Linked DNA regions of Homo sapiens: all the other regions are linked to region 2. Evidence: promoter capture Hi-C in 16 types of primary human blood cells and fetal thymus (Javierre and others, 2016). All regions are on one chromosome and are shown on one strand. The core of a region is centred on a gene start or on the middle of the fragment in contact, and the rest is flanking DNA. Distances in the headings are between cores, read along the strand shown.

Region 1 (3,142 bases), core at 398-2,897, 540 kb after region 2:
CATATTTGTTTTTGTGGCTCTTTGAGTGCATTTGCTAGTTTGCATAGGGAGGCCAGATTCAACTAATACAAATGTAGGGTTTGCAATTCAATTTGAATTTCAGGTAGACATTGAATAATTTTTTAGTATATGTATGTCCAGTGCAATATTTGTCCCATGCAACATTTGGGACATGCCTATACCAAAAAATAAAAAATTGTTGTTTATCTGAAATTTAAATCTAATGAGGTGTCTTGTATTTTATCTGGCAATCCTAAGCTTACAGTAGAAAGCAGTCTACTTAATTCAGTAATGAAAGGATTTTCTCAGGTCTTATTAGGTCTGTATACTCTTTTAGAAGTGAGGTGAAAGTAGATTTACCAGTCATAGTTTAAGTACACATATTTGAATTTCAGCTTCATATTCTCGAAAACTAACTTTAAAAAGTTCGAAAATTTTCCTCTTAAGTCTTGTCCAACCAGATTTGAAATTTTATTGTAATGCAGATAAACAGTGGAAAGAATCAGACAGATCTTAGAATCTCAGCTTCTTTATTTACTACCTGTGTGGGTCTGGCAAAAATCAGCTATCTGAATTGATTTCAAGTATCTCAACATATAGTTATGAGGAATTAATAAGATAAATTGTGAGAAGCACCTATTATGTCAGACACATGTAATTTGTTCAAAACACATTAGGTGTCTATCCCATATTAATTGTAAAGTACTGGCTTAGGAGTACTTGTGAGGGTCTTGTACTAAGAAGGAATAGCAACTCATACATCCAAACTCCTGTGTTATCCTTTTTCTCTCCACAACTTTAGCAGAATGAATAGAATAAGATATGAACAAACAAGCTGCCATACGGAGTGAGGAACTTGTATTCTCTTACATATAGCTGAGTTTTACTCCTGACACTGGGACTGACATGTATGTGATTCCTTGTAAATGCTTATTTTATTACTTTTTGATGTCATTATTATTGTTATTATTATTATATAATAAGAAAGGATAGTTTTGCCTTTTCTTGGAGGGTAAGAACTTGTCTTAGTATCTTCAGCATGAGGCACAGTAGATACCACCACTGAAATGATACTTATTGGAGAACACCTGGCCACAGAATTGGGTTCCTGACTAATGGGTAGTAAATAGACCATACAATTTTCCTAATATGTTATTACATATTCAAATTTTTATGTGCATATTATGATATTTCTATCCTCCTTTTGTTCACACACACAAAAAAACAGATCTCACAGAGAAAAATATAGAACCCTCAGAATGACAGCTGCGATGTGAAGTCTTACTGTGCTTCCACAATTCTGGGAAAGAGAAGAATTGGAGAGGGAGGGAAGAACAGCTGCCTTCAAGTAGTTGAAGGGCTGTCATATGGGAGGAAGGCTTGCTCATGCCATGGACTCCAAGGGCGGAACTAAGGTTGAAGGGTAGAAGTTAAAAGGTGGTATGGTCAAGTTTAAGCAATAAAAACTGCCCATTACTGCAATGTCTCAAATGTGGTGAGGTCTCCTCTACTGAAATGTTGATTCACTGTCTCTGATGACCATTTATCAGGAATATTAGAGCAGTAACTACAGCTCTGTTTTCTTCTTAACTTGTAAAATGGGGATAATAATCCCAATTTATCGACTCACAGGAGAGGGATTTGATCCAACGAAATCTAAAGAGACCCTTTTGCTAGTTTTTAGGCAGCTGTAAAGCCCTCGTTGCAGGGTTTTCAAATTTTGCTGCAAACTAGAATTACCTTGGGAGCTTGGAAAACCCTGTGTGTCTAGGCCTCACCTGCAGAGACTCCGATTTAAGTGGTATCAGGCATGCCAGAGAATTAGGGTTGTTTCAAAGCTCTCCAAGTGATTCTCGTGTACAACAATTTCGAGAACCATTAAACTAGAGTACTAAGAGCCATTATTCTGGATTTTACTTTGGAATCTAGGTTGGACTACAGATGTGACGTTGAGCAACTACTTTATCTTGGATCTGTATTTCTTGTTTACCAGGAAGAAGAGGACATGCATACTTCTAAAGTAACTTCCTCTAGTATTTTATTACTTTAAGGCAGTTGACCCTTAAAGGTATACGAATTAAGGAAAGGGCACTTAACTACCTTCTAGGAGTAGAAGAGGATCTCTGCTTTGACACATGGGAATTGTTGGCACTCTTTTTCTCAGTTTTAATAGCAGTCATGGACTCCTTTCAATGCGGGGATGTTTATACCTCTCCGGGGAATGTATGGCACCAACAGCATTTGGATGGCTGGTTGTTTCAGCAGTCCTTTGCTTAAAATAGGCATGCACCCTAATTTGAGAAGAAACTGGCAGAGGATAAAAGTGGGTTTCTTTGCTCTTCCCCAGTATTCTAGAAGCTGCTTCATTATCAGAGTTGGAGTCATCTGATGGATAACTGGACATGTTTCTTGGTGTTTTTTTTGTGTATGGCTATACTTCTTTATACTCTTTTGGGTTGCTGTCTTACATACTGCTTAGTGACTTGCTTACCAATAATTTTCCTAGCCTAACCCAGGACAACCATGTTGTCTTTTGGTCTTGACTTTTCCATATGAGACTGCATGTCTTATTGTCACTCCAGTCATGCAGCAACTAACTCTAGACAGGCAGTCATGGACATAGGATTCCATTTTTTTTTTTTTTTTTTTTTCTGCAAGGAAATCCAAGGACTCCAGTTATTAGGTCAAAGATGTTGCTCGTATTCCAGGTAATTCATATTTGCTGGTGAAGTTTTATTTGCCATGCAGTGCCCACAAAAGTAATCCTAGAAATGAGCAGTACTGTGAGGCATAGCACAACACATCCACATTTTATGTGGAGGATATGATCCAGTGGCATTTTATTTAGTGTGAAACTTCTGTCTTCTAAAAGGGAAGATTCTTTTGGAAGGATGGTCTCCTGCTGTGTAATACTTCATGAATTTCTAGTTTAAAAAAATTAGATTTTCCAAAGATCCACTACTATGTACACATTTCAAAATAAATCACCCAGTTAACTCAAAACAATCTTATCGTGAGAAATTTTGGAAAGCTTGAGTTACTTCTAAGAGTTAAAAATGTTCTTTCCTCCTCTTCTGCATGTCAGACTGCACATGATTACTCTGATGTTTCCGTAAATGCTATTAGTGCACTATGAAAGTGG
Region 2 (2,915 bases), core at 93-2,592:
ACATTAAACTTTATGCACAGGAATTGTTTCAGGTGTGGTGCTATAAGAATATGTCACATGTAATTTCCAATCTGGTTGGCTCGGTTACAGAGCAGATTGCTCTTTCAGAAATACACCGTGACCTCCCTACTCAAGAGGCTTCATAAACTCTTTCAGTGAGACATAGCAGTCTAGGAGAGGCATGTGTACAGTAAGTGTTATGATTTTTTGGTACTATAATAAGCAAAGTGCCTTTTTGTTTATTTGGAGCTACATGAAGCTAGGCCGGAATTCCAGCTTCATAACTTACTATCTTGTATTTTTGAGCAAGATATTTAAACTCAGTTTTGGAGTCTTAGTTTTTTGATTTAAGTAATACACAAATAGCATAATATTGGCACATGGAAGACAATGAGAATTCATTTCATGCTTTCTCCCCTGATCACGGATCACAAACTCCAGAATTCATAGTTACTATTAGTTTGTGTGTTTTATATTTTTGGAGGAAAGCTAAAATTTGGTAGATTATTAATTCTATATTAACACACTATAGTCAAACCCTATTTTTAAATGCAATTTAATTTCTGCAACCACTGATGATCCCAATATTCTGTCAAATACTAGGTAACAGTTATTCATTATTTTAGAATATGGATCTGAATTATGAAATAATTTTGCATTCTAAGGTCTTATGTAGTAAGATTTGGATTAACTTCCCAATTATCAACACAATTGTAGGAAATCTCCTGAGAAAAAATATTTCTAACGATTGTGTATCTTATAATTTAAAAAATAAACGTGACTTGGAAAATGCAAGGACTACTGTTCTTCTTGGGTGGTGCATTAAAGGTGATCAGAATTCTAATGACGCTGGACAGTAGGATTTTCAGAATCAGTTTCCTAGGGTTCAAGAAGTCAAACGGCAAATAACCCAAGGTCCTTGGTTGATCTGACCATCTCAGCTATCTCAAGATATATAAGATGACCTAACTGGCGCATCTCTAGGATGGGTGGGTCATTTAAAATGTTCTGCCCTTGAGGCTGGGATTTTGTGCGTGTAAACGGTGGGGAGACGGCGGTGACACATTTTTCTCCCTCCCGTAGTGCCACCCGGCGCAGGGCCGCTGCGGCGGCGGCAGCTCCCACGTGGCAAGTTCAGATTGTGCAGCGCCTGGCCGGGGGCGGTGGGCGGGACCGCAGACCCCTCCCTCCGCTCTCCGGCCCTTCCCTCTGGCCGGCCCGGGCGCCCGCTTGGTCCTCCACCGCCAGGGGGCGGGCGCGGCTTCCCGGCGGCGGGGGCCCATTGGTCGCGGCCGGGAAGCGTGGGAGGAGGCCCAGCGGCGAGCTGGCTTTCTCCTGGCCACTTGCCGGGGTGAGGGGCAGCCGGAGGAGTCCGAGAGGAAGCGGAGGCGCGAGCTGGAGGCGGCGGCTCCCGTCGGCCTCCGGCAGGACTGAGCGCTGGGAGGCCGGAAGGCGGGCGCGCGCGGCGGAGAGGCGGGCGGGAGGCCGGTGAGACGGCTGGGAGGCGGACGGAGCCGGGGCTCAGGTTCGGGGAGGGATGGAGGAGGCCGGGGAAGCCAGACGCCCACCTACGACTTCAGCCTCCGCGCACTGCGGTCACCGGCCGGGGGCGGGCCCCGGGCCCGGCCGCGTTGTCACGGCGTGTCCGGACGTTGGAGAGGGCGCAGGCGGGACTGGGGTCCCGGAGAGCCGCTGGCCGGGGTTCCCGGCCGCCGCCCCGGCGTGGGCATCCCCGGGCTCCGCGGAGACGGGGCGGCGTCTGCACCTGGCGCTGGCACTCGGCGCCCCGGCCTGGGGCGGGCACCTGGGTCGCATCTTCCCCAGGTTGGCTGTGGCTCGCGCCCCTGCAGCGTGTAGGCTGAGAGCTCCGAGAGGTGGGGACGGAGTTGGGTGTTGCATTCCAACTCCATAGGGGGCCGTTTTGACTCACTTGTAAAGTTTTAGTGTCGCCTATACTAGAGGTACTTTTGGTTTTTTACAAGCTATCCAGCCCTTTGATGTTTGGTGTCTCTTCTTTTTCTTCCTATTTGTTTGCTACTGCTCTCACAGCTCGGGACCACGGATGATGATTAGTGGCCCTAGATCTGAATATGTGAGTGACGGATTGGCAATTTGAGATTGAGAGCTCCAGCTGTTTTACTTGTGGGAGGAGCGGTTTCCATCATCCTCTACCTTTTTTTTTTTTAAGAAAAAATATTATTGCCTGTAATATAGAACTGCTATCTAATTGATAGGACTTTTCCTTTGTTTCTTTTTGGCCAACATGGTGAAACCTCGTCTCTACTAAAAAATAAAAAAATTAGCCAGGTGTATGTATCCATATATATATATGTATGTATGTATCCATATATATGTATGTATCCATATATATGTATGTATCCATATATATGTATGTATCCATATATATGTATGTATGTATCCATATATATGTATGTATCCGTATATATGTATGTATCCATGTATCCATATATATGTATGTATCCATATATATATGGATACAATGACATAAATAATATTAGATTGCTTACTGTGTACTAGGCACTGCCAAATGGTTTCGTGTGCTCATTTATTCTCACAACAGCTCAGTGAATAAGTCCCTTTATCTTTTCTAGTTTTACAGATGGAAATATGAACTCCCGAGAGTAAAGGTCAATGCTGATAGCAGAGGCCCCGACCCCTTGGACTTGTGGCCAATTTGCAGTTACGTTTTCTTAAGTCTTGGGAACCGTTACTATTAGTCATACAGTATCTTACAGAGTACCAGCAGATCTCTATTGAATTTAGAAAATAAAAGTTAATCACTTACTGAAAGCCATTTAACAAGAAATTGGCAGAATCAGCAAATCAGCATCCGGTTTTGGTCACTTCATCGACCTGTACCTCTTTCTAGAGGCTACTAGTAGTCTCTTGTGTTT
Region 3 (3,058 bases), core at 531-3,030, 600 kb before region 2:
AAAACACAAGTAGAAACAACTTTTGTTTGTCTTATTTTTGGGAAGAGTAAGGGCAATCAACCAAGAGGAAAACACCCCACTCCCCATAACCAAATTATAAAAAGTAGAAAAATAGATCTAAGACAAACTCTTGAGATGCTTTGTATAGATATTTGAAAGTACCTCACATGGTCTTAGGATCATGTATACACTTACTACATAATGCTTTGGGGGCTGAAAAGAGGAAATAAATACAAATTAAACCAACTCTTAATTATCCAAAATAACAGTCTCAACATTTACATAGCAATTTTCATTTAATGATTATTACAATGTTATAAATATGTTTAGTCACTCTTATTTTACAAATGGTAAACTCCAATATTAAGGATAAGTTTACTTATTGTCTGGCACCAGACCTGCTGAATGAGAAATGGGTCCCATGCCCCAAAAAATTACCCGGCAATCCAGACTTAAGAGAAAATCACTTTGCCTTTTGGCCAAAAGAATATAGAGAGAAAGCATCAATGCATACAGTAATTAAACTAACCTCATTTATTGAGTTAATATATAGATGTATCTGGTGGCACTTACCAGGATTATCAGTAGGCATGTCGACAATCAGTTGGTCGCTGTATTTTCCATATAAGCCATTAGTGCATATGGCTACTATCTGAAGAACATAACTCATATTGGGTAGCAAATTATTGAGAATAGCACCCTAAAAGAAAGATGTTAGTAATTATACAAATGTTATTCTCATAGGACTACCAACACACTAGGTATCTTTCCTAGAAAACTTTTTCTCCCTGGTCCGTGGAAAATACTTCTATTTTATTAACCTAAGGAAAAGTTTATGCAATGTTGCTTAGTTAAACTTGTGGTATTTGTGAATTATGAAGAACTGGAAAGCTAGGCTTTTTTTTTTTTTTTGCTTTTTAAAAATCAGATTTAGTTTCAGGAAGTTTCATTTTTAGCCAGAACTCATCAAATTCATAAATTAGTACTACAAACTAAAAATTAATATTTTAGACAAATAAATGGGGGGCATTTGCAAACAAGGAGCAATGTGAAAAAGTGAACAACTAAGTTATCTCTTTTTCTTGACAATATATATGCAAGAACAGTAATAGAATTATCTTCTTCACGTAATTATGAAATAAACATTTTTATTACTATTTATTTCACGATTTTCCCAGGTCATTGTGTCTCCATATTCCAGGCAACTGAATTAAAAGGTTACTAAAATTTTATCCATTTTGTCCACATGATATGAAACATAATTAATAGTGCATTTTTATTTAAATGCAGGTTCCCAGGACTTGCAGGACTCTAGGTGCCTGAGTGCAGAGTCCAGTGTCCTTTAACCTGCAGTGGGGACTTTCTGGACCTACATCCAGATGAAGGTTTGTCAACTACACCCTAATCTATGGCCAACACTTCCCTACCAGAGCAAAGTTTAATACTGACATGCTCAGGCCACAAAGGGAATCTGTACTTTATTCGCATGCGCTGGTGGAGGGAGGCAGGGGTGGATCTTTTTGTAAGAAATGTTTTCTTACATCCCCAAAGTTCTGACCCAATCATGACTTCCCAGCTGTTATCTGAAAATTTTTTGGTGCAACAAAGAGGACTTGTATGTCCCCTACTCTACTTTTCCTGTGCTGATATAGCGTAATGGAAGACACAATATAAAATGTATCAGGGCACTGAGATTCTGGCACTATTCTACAACTGAAATCTTAAGAAAGGCCACACTAAATGATCTCCAGTTCATAAGTCATATGTATCTACTCTATAGTGTTATTGTTGGCAAAGTTATGATATCCATTTAATTAAATGTAACTTTAAACATAATTTAGTATAGCTTCTAATTTAAAATTTTTTTTTAAATTTAAAAATACTCAGCCTACCCCACCTTCACATAAAGTCTAAAAGTAATGGAGGAAAATAATATACAACCATTTGTAAGTTCTTACCTTGGAAATTAAATTATAATGTTACCCTATGTAAAACAACTGATCATATAGTTACCAAGTCTTGATAGCCATCTGTCAAAAATTCATGCTTGGTTTGGTCCTCTCCATCCAACTGCTGGTACAAAACTGCAAACTTCTCAATCATGGTATCATAAACGACTCGAGGTCTTTCCCATGTAACAAGAAGGCTGGTATAATTCTCTGGGTCAGCCTGAACATTTTCTGGTTCTGAACTACAAACTTCAGAGAGAAAAAAGTACAGTTGTTGATAGAACTTAGCCTTGAGGACTTGAATAAATAAAACATATTCTATAAAAATTTTATTGTGTTTTATTTCAATGTAAAGTAAAAAGTTACACTTTCCCACTGTGGAGCTTTTGCTTATTCCATTTCCTATATCTAAAATACTCTTTCCACCCCTCTTAACTCTATCTGTTCAAATCCCAGCTTTCCATTCTGGAAAGGTCTTGGTCAAATGCTACCTCCTTCATTACTCACATTAATCTCTACTGAAGTGATCTCTGTCATTGTCAATTGCCTATTTTATCATTATTACTGCATTATTTGCATACTTTCGTATTGTATTTTTCCTGAATGAATCTTGACTCCTCTAGTGGATTATAAACATAAGAACCATAGCTCTGTAGTTCTATATTGCCTAGAACATTGTTTTGAATATACCTGGCATACAGATTCATTTTTAGAAATAAATGAACAAAGAATATCTGCAAGCTCATGATGACTTAATTTCTCTTGTTTGGTACCTGAAAATATATTCAGTTCAGGATGAGGATAATTTCAATTATGAAAGACATACTATTATCGGAACATTTTGTTATTAGACAATCCTTGAACTAATTTAAAATTCCCAACCAGAGAAAACCAAAGAAAACCTAAAATTGCCATTTCAGTATTTTTCAGACGTGCTGACAAAAATCCCATTTTGTTATCATAAGTAAATTAAGAAAATAATTTTAGGGAATTAAGAGACTTGTTTGTCTCATCTGAAAAAGTAGTATTATGAAAAATCATTCAGAGACTTCTTAAAATGAATTCAGGCCCATGCTGGGAATCATGCCCCAAATTTAGTCCCATCAGAG

The links. Contacts are between HindIII fragments. The CHiCAGO score rates a contact against its expected background, and 5 or more counts as called.
Region 1: a fragment that was not itself captured here is called in contact with the fragment with the promoter of FAM3C in region 2 in 2 of 17 cell types (naive B cells and activated CD4 T cells); the score reaches 5.8 in naive B cells.
Region 3: a fragment that was not itself captured here is called in contact with the fragment with the promoter of FAM3C in region 2 in 1 of 17 cell types (total B cells); the score reaches 5.4 in total B cells.

Annotation. Positions count from the first base shown.
Region 1 is chr7:120,858,547-120,861,688 of GRCh38, reverse strand. The region is part of intron 1 of LOC124901733 (a long non-coding RNA gene); the gene reads right to left. Among named protein-coding and RNA genes, the nearest start is that of TSPAN12, 2.0 kb to the right of the region's middle. The HindIII fragment of the contact is 2,773 bases long and covers 261-3,033 here.
Region 2 is chr7:121,394,735-121,397,649 of GRCh38, reverse strand. It overlaps FAM3C (FAM3 metabolism regulating signaling molecule C), which reads left to right and starts at 1,342. Exons shown (of 10, transcript NM_014888.3): 1 at 1,342-1,488. RefSeq lists silencers at 978-1,037, 1,078-1,907 and enhancers at 1,135-1,719, 1,720-2,305. The HindIII fragment of the contact is 3,372 bases long and covers 1-2,915 here.
Region 3 is chr7:121,995,522-121,998,579 of GRCh38, reverse strand. PTPRZ1 (protein tyrosine phosphatase receptor type Z1) reads right to left here. Exons shown (of 30, transcript NM_002851.3): 9 at 2,014-2,198; 10 at 574-700. Among named protein-coding and RNA genes, the nearest start is that of PTPRZ1, 120 kb to the right of the region's middle. The HindIII fragment of the contact is 5,791 bases long and covers 1-3,058 here.